Linked DNA regions of Homo sapiens: region 1 is linked to region 2. Evidence: promoter capture Hi-C in human tissues and cell types (Jung and others, 2019). All regions are on one chromosome and are shown on one strand. Each heading gives the region's core, a stretch centred on a gene start or on the middle of the fragment in contact. The rest is flanking DNA. Distances are from core to core; before and after follow the strand shown.

Evidence for each region. Contacts are between HindIII fragments. The study calls those that stand out against the background at their distance.
Region 1: a fragment that was not itself captured here is called in contact with the fragment with the promoter of SEC63 in region 2 in 1 of the 25 tissues and cell types used here (hippocampus).

Annotation. Positions count from the first base shown.
Region 1 is chr6:109,308,426-109,314,762 of GRCh38, forward strand. It overlaps the pseudogene CCDC162P. Among named protein-coding and RNA genes, the nearest start is that of CD164, 71 kb to the right of the region's middle. The HindIII fragment of the contact is 3,139 bases long and covers 1,818-4,956 here.
Region 2 is chr6:107,953,570-107,960,476 of GRCh38, forward strand. SEC63 (SEC63 protein translocation regulator) reads right to left here and starts at 4,639. Exons shown (of 21, transcript NM_007214.5): 1 at 4,317-4,639. The coding sequence starts at 4,440. RefSeq lists enhancers at 4,078-4,679, 5,282-5,882 and a silencer at 4,302-4,841. The HindIII fragment of the contact is 11,998 bases long and covers 1-6,907 here.

The DNA.
Region 1 (6,337 bases), core at 2,137-4,636, 1.4 Mb after region 2:
CTGTCCATAAACAGTTGTGGGAAGGGAACTTTTTAAAGCAGGACTCGTAGGGAGAATTTCTTTTCATTGTTTTCTTTTTTGCTGTTAACTTCCTTTAAATAGTTTGATTCTTTTCATTATTAAATGTTTTCCCCTGATTATTTAAGTAAATATTGTTTTTATTTAAAAAATAGAAAGCTTAGAAAAGTATTAAGAACAACATGAAAATCAACCATAAATAACGCTTCAAAACAATATGGAGGTGGGGAGTGGGTGGGATGGGGTAGCACTGGCCACAGGTTAATGGTTGTTGGGGCTGGGTGATGGGAACTTTTCTGTTTGATTTCTATATATTCAAAATTATCCATAAGTAGAACAGGTTTTTTAAGTAAAATAGTAAAAGTGGTCTTAAAAAATTAACCATATGGCTGGGTGTGGTGGCTCATGCCTGTAATCTCAGCACTTTGGGAGGCCAAGGTGGGCAGATCTCTTGAGCTCAGGAGTTCAAGACCAGCCTGGGCAACAAGGTGAAAGCCTGTGTCTACTGAAAATGCAAAAATTAGCTGGGTGTGGTGGCACACGCCTGTAGTCCCAGCTACTCAGAAGGCTAAGGCATGAGAATCACCTGAACCCAGGAGACGGAGGTTGCAGTGAGCTGAGATCGTACCACTGCACTCCAGCCTGGTGACAGTGTAAGACTCTCTTAAAAAATAAAATAAAATAAAATAAAATAAAAAATCAACCATAGTTCCACAACTAAGAGACAATTACAGTTCACATTTTATTTCCCTGGTATTTTCCCTCTGCATATGTGTGTTTATATCTGTACTTTTAAGGGAAAATTGATATCACACTATACATTCACCATGTACAGATCTGCTGTAAGGGCTGGAAACTTGGCATTTTCATACAGAGCCAAAATTTGATGTGCTCAAAGAAAACTTTAAGTTAGAAATGTTACTCTGGTTTTTATGAATTTTCTAGCAGTTGAGGGAATGGGTTCTTGTAAATACAGTTACTCCTAGTTTTCTTCCTGAAAACCATATGTAAAATATATATATGGTCTTCAAATGGAAGGTTTTTTTGTTTTTTTTTAGCTGTGCCTCTGTGGGCTGAGTGACCGTGACCGCAAGGTGGCTCATGGAGAACTGGTGGGTGTGCAACTGCTACTGGAAGATGTTCTGAGTAGCTATCATGTGACCATGGAGGCCCCCCAAAGACAGCAAGCCACACTGGGCAAAAATACACAGGTATTCTGGGGGTATCGTTTCCATATTGATAGTACTATATTGAACTGAAGGACCTCTCTGTTGGGGAGATGGTCCGGGGAGTCATGTTTTCCCACAGCCTCTCTCAGTAGGTCCCAGGACTGTGCCAACACCACCTGGGAGCAACAGTGGAGCAGGGGTAGCCACTGCAAAGCATTTTCTAAGTTCCATGATTATGGTATATACATCTATTTTAATTTTAAAAATACGCCAAAAGTTGTGGGAGGTCTATTGAAACCAAATGAAACAAAAGCGCCAACTGGATGCTTTCTTTGTGAGTCATACATCTAGGACTGGAGTTGGAAGGGCCAGAGGGGTCTGATAGAAGCCCCAGGTGGACATCTCAGGCCTGGGCTCTTGTCCTCATCACTCAACTACTGGCCTATGGTCTCCTGGGCAGGCACTGCCTCCTCTGGGTTTATCATTCTGAAGCTCTAAGGTGCAAGGGCCACTAGCGCTCCTAGTGTCATGACTTTAAACAATTTTGCATATATCCAGGAACTAGGCAGAGACATGTTTGGATGCTAGACAAACTAGCTGGTGCCCGCACTTGAAGAGCTTTTCTGTCCGAGCCAAACTTTCTGAGCAATGCCTAAACCCATCATCTCCATTTTCTTACCTTCCTGCCACTCCTCGAAGCACTGCAGTCTGTCTTCCCAATCTTGCTACTGAAACCTCTCTCATCAAGAGATGGTCTTTGTCACTAAATCCTCTGGGTACTTTCAGTCACCTTTCTACCTAACCCCTTGGCAGCATTTGACACAGAGTCCTTCTCAAAGCCTCTCTGCCCTTGGCTTCTACAGCATGAGTCTCTCCTAGCTTTCCTCCAACATTGCTGAGCCCCTCTTCTCAGACCCTTCTGTAGGGTCCTCTACCTCTGCCAACCCTAAAATTTTTTTATAATCTATCCCACCACTGCTACCAGGGCCACATTTTGACTTCCGCAGTCCCTAACACTTTTACCTTTGTGGGCTCTTCCCTCCTCCATGAAAAACCATTAAAAATTATATTTTAACATTGTGCTAGTACAAAGAAAAATATATTAATATCATATATTAAAGCATTTTATTTAGCCTAAAAGGTCTTTTTTTCTGATTAAAAAAAAATAAAGCATTTTGTGGGCCCGAGGCACTGTGCCTCCTCTGCCCAAGCTGTTAAGTCAGCCCTGAATACTATCAATACCACTGCTATTATTGCCTAGAAGTTGAGGTCTGTTCAGATTGCTTTTTATGTATTCATTTATTTAGTCCTCACAATAATTCCATGAGATAGGTTGTTTCATTGTTCTCATTTTATAGATAAGAATACTAAGGCTTAAAAAGGTTAAGTAACATGGCCAAAGTCACATGGTTAATGAGGAAAGAAGCTCAGATTCCAACCCAACGGTCTGGCCCTAGAGCTCCCTCATCCTCTTCTCTACTAGGTTGCTCCATTCCTCACCCTCTCCCTAGGAAAACCCATCCACTTTTATAACTTTGATGACATTCACATGCAATGATCCAAATCTGTATGTCTAGCCCAAATATCAATCCTATCAGACTCACATGTTCAATTGCCTGCTGGATATCTCCACTTATTCCATCTCAGAGACAGCGTTTCTCAAGCTAAGGTCATCTTACTCCCTAAATCTTGCCCTTCCCTGTCCGTTTACCACTACCTGCCCAGTTGGCCAAGCCAAAAACTCTGGGCACCATCTTTGACTTCTGTCCCACACCCCACAACCAGTCACCAAGTTTTACTATCAATTATTTTAATATCTTTCAAGTTTGTCTTCTTTCTCTGTTCCCCCACAGTACCCACTTCTATGAGTCCAAACCATCATCATCCCTGATCACTAACTAGGCTATGATCTTGACCTCCAATTGGATTCAATACACTTATTCTCACCTCCTTCCAATCCATTCACCAGGGTAATATTTTTAAATGCAAGCCTGATTATATCACTTCCTTTACTATAACTCTTCAATGGATTCCAGATGCCCTGAGAAGAGTCCAAATGCTTTCATCAGCCCCTCGTGACTTGACTCCTGCCAATATTTCTACCCTCAATGTCTTTCGATTTGTCAAATGCACCATGCTCTCTTCTGTACTTCTCCCAAACTGGTCACTCTAGTGGAAAACTTCCCTCTCCTTCCTCTTTCTGCTTCATCACCTGATTAACTCTTACTTATCCTTCAGATTTCCACTTCCAAACCACTCTCTTTAGGAAGCTTCTTCTGATCATCCACGCTTACCCTGTTGCTTCTCTGTGCCAGTTAGAGTGCTTCTGGTGCAAGTAACAGGTTGTTCCATTAGCTATAACCTAAATTAGGGAAGCATATTAATCCTCCATAATAAGACGTCTAGAAGGAGGCAGTTCAGGTTGGTGTAGCCCCTTGACAGTGACTTCAAGGACTCAGGCTCTGCCATTTAGGTGTATTGGGAAACATCTCCCTCATGTTTGTAAGATAAAAACAGGAGCAAAAAAGCTTTCTCCTTGGAGATCTAGCTTTTTATCAAGGAGGGGAATATTTTCTAGAAGCCCCCCCATTAGATTTTCCTTGTGTCTTTTTAGCTAAACTGAGTCACAAGTCCACTTGGGGCCAATTAGTAGAAAAAGAAGTGGTTTTATATGTGCCATCTACATTCCACAGCATAATTAGATCTTCACCCAGTGTGATCATTTGCAAAGCTGGGTATAGACCAAATTGTGCCAGGATCCAAACACATGCTGGGCCCTCAGGTCCTTCTGTTTGCCATATTTTGGCCCTGTCTATGATGGATTACCATCTTTTCCTGACATTCCCCACCATCCTCCACCTTGTTATTTATTTTGGCTCCTGTTCCTTCTCTTGTCTATTAAATTAAAGCACGTTGGTAGAAAAGACTTCTCATCATATGAACATATTAACAAACAAGTTTGCTTTAAAATTATTATTTATTTTAATTAATTTTATTTCGTGTGTTTTTATTTAGGAGTATTTAGCTATTCATAGACAATAGGAAGCAGTAGAATTTATACTGCCCTGAGAGTCAGGACTCCTGAGTTCCTGCCCCAGTTATGCTATAAGTTTTTTGATCTCACTAGGCCTCAGTCTCCAAAGCTCCAAAGTAAAGGTGATGAATTGGCTCAAGGCTTTTAAAATTGTGGTCCAAGGAGCCCTGGGGTTCCTCAGAGATACCCTGGGGCTTCTTGAGCTGGGGAGCGGGGGCGGCAATTACATGGCCTCCAGGCTGTCCCCTTCATGTCACCATGCTTGGCCTTGGTCTGTTGAATATTTGGGCCAGTGTGTAAGAATTCATTTGATGAAAGAGCTCTGAGGATAAAATAAAATCTGGAAATCCATGCACTAGCTGATTGTTGGGGAGGCAGGCTACAAGACTGAGGAGTTACCAGCAGTCTACAGGAACTCGCTCTCCCCTGGTTCTTGCTTATCAATTCTTCCTTGGACAATTTGACCAATACTCTTCCTGGCAGGCAGGCTTTTCCTTAGATATGTTAATACCACTGCTCTAGGATCCAATTATACCAGGTTGTTCTCCCTGTTTCTAGCCAGGAAACGTGAGTGTCTCGGGTACTGTCACCTAAATGCTCTCTAAGCCTCTTTTTATCATAACGTCATGGGATTTGCCAACCTGGTCTGCCAAGAAGAGCTCCTTTTTCTGTGACTGAGACACTATGTACAGGCAGTGGGCCTGGACGTGATCCTCATTTTGTTCCTCACTCTGGGTGACCCTGGCCCTCAGACCGCTGGCTGCAGGACAGCAGGACAAACAAGGACCTGAATACCTTGTTTCCTCCATGTCCTCCAGGGCTCATAGCAGCCCCTCCACAATTATTTACTTAAGGAAAGCACCAATGAATAAATGAAGAAATCATAATTTTAAAGTAATCTTTCTTATTGAATGATAAATTCTAATTAAGAGAAATGTTTCCTGCCTAACTTCTAAAAGAGGAGAAGAAACAGGAGGTAGGATAAATTAACTTTCTATTTCTTTACCCATAAGATGGGTAAAATCCTGAATGGAAAGTTACTTCTTGGCCCCACCGTGATGGGAACTTTAATCTCAGGTATATTGAAGAGCACTTTCCAGAATGCAGAGGGAAAACACAAAAGGCTCAGTTTTTCAAAGGCAGATAAAACGTTAGTATGCAAGTAAGCGAGTTTTCAAAATGAATGGTTCCAGACCCAAGCAAAAAGCTGCAGTTGAGACATTCCTATCCTTTCCATAAACTGTTCATGAAGGATGGTCAACCTCTCTCAACTCTATATGTGCTGTGGGCCTGTAAACCATTCCTCCTGGGGAAAAAGTTAATTCTCCAAAGACTTTGTTTTGCACAGGCTGCATGTGAAAGGTTAGCCTGTGTTGGTCCATGATCAATAAAGAAGGATTTCCATAATGCTTTCAGCCAGATTGGTCCAAAGTGCCAGGATTCAGAAGTCAGTTCCGAAGCAGCCCAAAGACCTCTGAGCTGCTGGAGGGCCTGTGCGATGCGGTGATGTCCTTTGCTTTGCTGAGATCATTTCTGATACTGTGGAAGCAGCTGGAAGTGCTAAAGGAGCACTGGGGCCGACTCAAGCTGCAAGGCCAGGATATCAACTCTGTCTCTCTCCACAAACGGTTTTCAGAGCTCTATGAGTGAGTGTTGCTGATGCTGAAATTCATGGCCATGACTAGAACCTGGGGGATGGCAGATTCCTGCCCTTAGTCTGAGGGCGAGATTTGGTCCATGAATCCTAATATGACCCGTTAGACCCACGGACTGAGTCTCTCAGAGCTTGTGGCATTGCAGCCAGAGATATACAGATGGCACATGCGGCACAAGTCTGAGGAATGGGAGGCATTCTAGCAGCTGCAGGCCCTGGCTCGAATGACGTAGCTGGCTGGGAAGGCGTGTTGCTTCTGCCACGTGTCTGTTAACAAACGAACATTTGCTAAGCACCCCCATACACCCTGGGCCTTACCAAGCTTAAGAACGTTTGCTTTAGGCCAGGCGTGGTGGCTCACAGCTGTAATCCCAGCACTTGGGGAGGCTGAGGCGGGTGGATTACCTGAGGTCAGAAGTTTGAGACCAGCCTGGCCAACACGGTGAAACCCTGTCTCTACTA
Region 2 (6,907 bases), core at 3,389-5,888:
GGGGGGGTCAGCCCCCCGCCCGGCCAGCCGCCCCGTCCGGGAGGTGAGGGGCGCCTCTGCCCGGCCGCCCCTACTGGCAAGTGAGGAGCCCCTCTGCCCGGCCAGCCGCCCCGTCCGGGAGGGAGGTGGGGGGTCAGCCCCCTGCCCGGCCAGCCGCCCTGTCCGGGAGGGAGGTGGGGGGTTCAGCCCCCCGCCCGGCCAGCCGCCCCGTCCGGGAGGGAGGTGGGGGTGTGAGCCCCCCGCCCGGCCAGCCGCCCCGTCCGGGAGGGAGGTGGGGGGGTCAGCCCCCCGCCCGGCCAGCCGCCCGGTCCGGGAGGTGAGGGGCGCCTCTCCTCAGCCGCCCCTACTGGGACGTGAGGAGCCCCTCTGCCCGGCCACCACCCCGTCTGGGAGGTGTACCCAACAGCTCATTGAGAACGGGCCATGATGACAATGGCGGTTTTGTGGAATAGAAAGAGGGGAAAGGCAGGGAAAGGATTGGGAAATCGGATGGTTGCCATGTCTGTGTAGAAAGAGGTAGACACGGGAGACTTTTCATTTTGTTCTGTACTAGGAAAAATTCTTCTGCCTTGGGATCCTGTTGATCGGTGACCCTACCCCCAACCCTGTGCTCTCTGAAACATGTGCTGTGTCCACTCAGGGTTAAATGGATTAAGGGCGGTGCAAGATGTGCTTTGTTAAACAGATGCTTGAAGGCAGCATGCTCGTTAAGAGTCATCACCACTCCCTAATCTCAAGTACCCAGGGACACAAACACTGCGGAAGGCCGCAGGGTCCTCTGCCTAGGAAAACCAGAGACCTCTGTTCACTTGTTTATCTGCTGACCCTCCCTCCACTATTGTCCTATGACCCTGCCAAATCCCCCTCTGTGAGAAACACCCAAGAATGATCAATTAAAAAAAAAAAAAAAATCAAAAAAAAAAAAAAAGAATTTTTCAGATTTTAGAAAAGTAACACAGCGTTTACACTCAAACAGACCCTATGGGGTCTAAAGTGCACCAATAACCAAACAAATTAATATTCCAAGACAGAACATAACTATTTATTAAGTGAGATAAAGATTATTCAGTAGCCTCCTGTCAGTACAAGTCGGCAAATTATTTTGCAGCAAACTTCTGAAAAAAGTTCCTTATTCAGAGCTTTGAATGAGGCAGTAATTCAAGATTTCTCTTTCATATTCAAGATACTGCAACTGGGCTGCAGAAAAAAAGTCACTATGATGAAAACATCCTTTTACTACAACTGTAATTCCACAGAAACAACTCAAGTTATTAGGGTAAATCCAAGAAAAAAGTCCAAGTGGTGCCCAACAATTTTCATAATGATTAGAATAGCATTTAAGTATTCACCTTAATTTTCATAACACAATTTTGAGCAAGAGCAAACAAATACATCAAAATATGCATATGGACTAAGGCAAGCCTGAAGCAGAGAGCCGGATGTAAAACGGGCAAACTGACACCCATAATAGTTCACCTAACTTTCTATCTAGCAGTATGGAAACCACACAGGGCTCTGAAGCTAAGCGACCAATGTTCTAATCCCAGTTCAACCATACAGGAAAATTACTTACATGCTCTACCCTCAGTTTCTTTACCTGTAAATGGAGATAATAATAGAACCTACCTCACTGCATTGCTGGAGTGTGGTGGCACGATCTCGGCTCATTGCAACCTCCAGCTCCCGGGTTCAAGCAATTCTCCCTGCCTCAGCCTCCCGGGTAGCTGGAATTACAGGCGTCCGCCACCACTCCCAGCTAACTTTTTGTATTTTTGTAGAGACGGGGTTTCACCATGTTGGCCAGGCTGGTCTTGAACTCCTGACTTTAGGTGATCCGCCCGCCTGGGCCTCCCAAAGTGAGCCACGGCAGGCGTGAGCCACCATGCCCGGCCAACCTCACTGCATTTTTAAGAAGATTAAATAAAGTAAAAGTTGAAGTCCATGATTTACAAATAGTATTAATTCCCTCCACCTAAACTACCACCACTTTTTCAAAGACACTTACATGCTGAAGGGGGTCAAGTATGACTTGTTGGCAGGGCGTGGTGGCTCATGCCTGTAGTCCCAGCACTTTGGGAGCCCGAGGAGGGCAGATCACTTGGTGTCAGGAGTTGGAGACCAGCCTGGTCAACATGGTGAAACCCCATCTTTACTAAAAACACGAAAATAAGCCAAGCCTGGTGGTGCACGCCTGTAATCCCAGCTACTGGGGAAGCTGTGGCAGAACTGCTTGAACCCAGCAGGTGGAGGCTGCAATGAGTCAAGATCAAGCCACTGCACTCCATCCTGGGCAACAGAGTGAGACTCTGTCTCTAAATAAATAAATAAATAAATAAATAAATAAATAGTATGATTCTTCTATGAAATCAGGTGAATTTTATAATACGAAACTCACCATGAAAATATGACTTTCAAATTTCAAAAATCCATCCTGACACAGTGGCTCAAGTCTGTAAGGCCAGCTACTCGGGGGGCTGAAGCGGGAGGATGACTTGAAGCAAGTTCAAGACCAGCCTGGGTAAATGAGACTCTCCCCGCTTTAAAAAGAAAAAAAGAACAACTTTAAAAATCCAATGTAGATTAAAAAATGATGGCTAATTTCTGAAATCAGGGCAGTTTCTCAAAACACTTTTTTTTATACCTTTGTTCTGCCTGATCAAAACACATTCTGGCCAAACCCACCGACTACTCTCCCAATACCTTTTTGTTTTCTACACTACCAATTGCACACATAATGGCTGTTAGGTGAAAATAAACTACTGAAAAGTGTACCCTTTTAACTTGAAATACAACAACCACAAGAATGGCCTAGGTTTGCAGATAAGAAAAGCCATTACAGCATTAAGACTTCACTTATACACAATCACTGCCCAAAGAACCTACCCAATTTTTTTTCCTTTTTCAACATCGAGGAAGAACCTACACAATTTAAATGCACTTAGGAAATAAGGCACAACAGTCCAAGATCCAAATTTCATAAACTACCCATTGAGTAAAAAAAGTATTAAGACTAGTAACTTTGGACAGATTTTTGCATCTAATGGATTTTTAAACTTATTGTCAAACGTACAAAATGATGCAATCCTTTGTTACTATTTATCCTAAATTTATTTTAGTTCTATTCCAAGTCAAGAATGTTAGTTTCCTGCAGATCACATGGGGCGGGGGGGAAAAAGAATGTTACAGGACACTGAATCCATCTGAAAGTATAACAAGTTCTGAGCTGATTCAAGGCTTCACTGTTAACAACTTCTCCAAGTAGAGTATATAACCTGGACAACCTAGACCTCCAGCACACCCAATTGAAGAGAAGATATTTAAGCAAGTTAGCACAGCTCTTGTGCAATAGAAAGCTTTCCCTAAGTTGTTAATACTCAAAACCCACTCCTTACTGTTAACACTACCATAAATAACCCATTAGGCCCTCGCAGTTACATCAGCTTTAAGAATACCATCTGCCATATGTCCTAGTAGAGTGCAACAAATGGATGCAAACATTACCCAAACATCAAGTGAAATATGAAAAGAATCTGTTATTCTGTGCTTTAATTCGATGTTGTTTAATGTGAAAAGACTTAGAACCAAAAGTAAATCGACCCACTACCTCAAAATTCCCTACAAGATTAATTAAACGAGACTTAATCCTTCATACTTGCACTTTTTCCGTCACAAACAGGAAACTCCGAAGAAAAGGAAATAGAAAAAAGCCTATTTTTGCTAAGAGGAATAACGGCATTGCTTCCAACCCCCACAGTGAGTGAACAAATGAAAAAGCAACGGGAGGAAGTGACGGGGGTAGGCGGTGGAAAGCTCAATTGGAGTCCTAAGCATGCCACCCGGCTCAGAGATGCCCTAAAACATCTGTTAAGAGCAGCTGCAACAGGGAAACCGGAGTCGGGGGATGAGGGCCGCGAACTGGACGGACTGAGAGTTGTGCCCGCACGTTCAGTCTCTTCTTGGCCAACTCTTTGCTCACCTCCCAAGTCCCCATCCCGCTTCCTCCATAAAGAAAAATCCCCAATAAAAGCAAAGGCAGAGAAGACAAAGAGGCAGGAGGAGGCTGCAAGGAGCGTCCACAACAATGGAGAAGATGGAGCGAGCGAAACTCCTGAGGACAATGAAGGGAGGTGGAGAAGCGCCGAGGGAAACGCTGCTGACCCGGGCCCCGCCAGTGGCGGACGCTGGACACAGGCCGGGCCGCACCGTCCCTGTCATCCCGGACGCCGCGGGCTGGGGCCGGGCAAGCGGGCGCCGCAGGGCCTGGGGGCGCTGGCGGGGCCTGCGCGGGTTCGCGGGCAAAGGCCGGCGGGACTCACCGGCATTCTGATCTCGGGGCCAGAGGTAGTATGTCGCCGGGATCACGATGAGCCCCACGAAGGAGGTGAGGAAGTAGAAGAAGGTGTTCCCACTGTCATCGTACTGGAACTGCTGCCCGGCCATGGCACCCCCTCCTCCGCCTCGCTCTTCTCACCGCCGCCGCCACGACCACGCTCTGCACTCCCGCTCCCAACGCCCCGGCCCGAGTGGCGTAGCTTGGACACTGCCGCCGCCGCCTCTCCTCCCCGCCCCCACGCCACTCTCACGGACACGCCGCCGCCACCTCTGCCGCTGCCGCCGCCGTCGCCAGCTCTCGCGAGAGGAGATAGTTCCCGCCCCGCTCAGTTTTCCCTCCCCCTGCGTGTCCCCAGCGAGCTCGCTAAGGGAGACGTGGCGAGCGCAACGGTGGAACTCGGCGAGGTCTCGCCCTTAGCCCCGCCCTAACGTCAAAGCCCTCCCCCAACCCCTCCCCTAGGGTCCCGCCCCTAACCGCTCCGCCTTCCTCCACCGCTCAGTTTCCCAGCGCACCACGCCGGATTCCGGGCGTCGGCGTACAGGATCCCAGAGAAGGCTTCCCGCCGGAGCAGCGGTCGCGGGCGGTTCACCTGGCTGCGCAGGGGTCCCAGATATTCAGAGAAGAGCTGAGGCTCAGCCTGTCCTGCCCTCTGGATTAATTGCCCTGGTTGATCACGTTTCCTTGGGTTCTGGATCTGCTCCTCCAGCCCCCATATTTTGGAAACAAGTGTCATTTAGAATAGGGGGTGGGAGGCCGGGCACAGTGGCTCACGCCTGTAATCCCAGCACTTTGAGAGGCCGAGGCGGACGGATCATGAGATCAGGAGTTCGAGACCAGCCTGACCAACATGGTGAAACCCACTCTCTACTAAAAATACAAAAATTAGCCGGACGTGGTGGCGCGCGCCTCCATCTCAAAAAAAAAAAAAATTGGGGGATGGGGAGGTGTGGGTTGCGGGAGGTGTGGGTTGCAGTTGTGTTTTCAAAGCAATGTTTACTATCTGGCCGGGCGCAGTGGCTCATGCCTGTAATCCCAGTACTTTGGGAGACCGGGTGGATCATGAGGTCAGGAGTTCCAGACCAGCCTAACCAACATGGTGAAACCGCGTCTCTACTAAAAATACAAAAACTAGCCGGCTGTGGTGGCACGCGCCTGTAATCCCAGCTACTCAGGAGGCTGAGGCAGGAGAATCGCTTGAACCCGGGAGGCGGAGGTTGCAGTGAGACCGGATCGCTCTCCACTGGGCGACAGATTTGAATCTACGCTGTGCCCATCTTGCAGATGAAGATTTCCCCAAGCCGTTACAGATGGTTCCCTACCCATTCCAGAGCTGCTAATTATAACCACCAGCTTCAGGCGGTAGGCTGAGACCTTTATTGTTTTGTGTCATTTAGTCATCAGTAAACCCCATGGAATAAAGCAAAGTATGTCTGCTCTACAAATGAGAAAATTGAGGCCCAGAGAGACTGCCCAAGGTCCCTCACAGTAAAAGAATGTCTGAGGATTCAAACCCATATCATTTTGATGCCACAAAGCCAGTGTGCCCTTGACCCTCCATCGCCCAGGACCTTAAAATTTCCTGACAGTGACTGGCATTCTCCCTGCGGGTTGTGAACAGGAAACTGCATTTCAGGGATGGACGGTGGCGGGAGCAGTCGCTCTCGGGAGCCTCTCCTTCCCCTGGCTGTGGGACCCTAGAGGCTGGTGTCCGCTGAGCTGGAAACTGGACTTCTGCCCAGATCTTTGAACGACCCCACGGTCCAGCGGCAGCTGTGGCTGGGGTCTATCCCAGAGTCCATTGCCCCTCTCTGGGTTAAAAGGATAGCCCACCTGGTTGCAGAGATTGAAAGGACTAATTGTGAAAATGCTTTTCAAAGGAGAAAGTGTAATATGCAAATACCAAATATTACACTATATTTCAAGGACTCATTTTAATACTTTATACTCTGTTAACTAAATGCATTATAATATTCCTTCCATTGTTGGAGGAAAAATCTGGTTGCTCATTGTCTTTCATTTCATGTCTTCAAAACTAGTATCTTAATCAGTAATGCTTTCCTTCATAATAGATTGTGTTCATATGTATTCTCTCTTCCCTTCAAATTTCCTATCTACTCACTTTGAAAGGAAATTTCTGAAATTCATTTCTATGCATTTCCCTCCTCACTTTTTTTCTGCACAAAGTTCAAAACTATATTATAGGTGAAAAAATAAAACCAAGAAATGAAGGGAAGGTTGAACTATGAAATCAACATAGCATTGTGATCTCCCAACGCTGATATACCCAGAGTGAACAATTTGCCTTGCTACAGAAAATTAGTCACAGACTTGTTGCAGCTGAAGTGAGCAGGATCATGAAGTTCCTTTTGTTTGTTGAATATGTTATTAAGTCTTCCTCGGTTTTAATAATGTTGAACTGTTTTTTTATTACTCCTATTATGTTTTGCTGGGCATTTGTTTAAAGATAATACATCAGTTTTGTAACCTTGTAGCAATATAAGTTATTGATGATAAATACTCCCCTTCTTTCTTTCTGCAGGAATAATATTTTCACTGCAGCTTTGGGGTCATGCC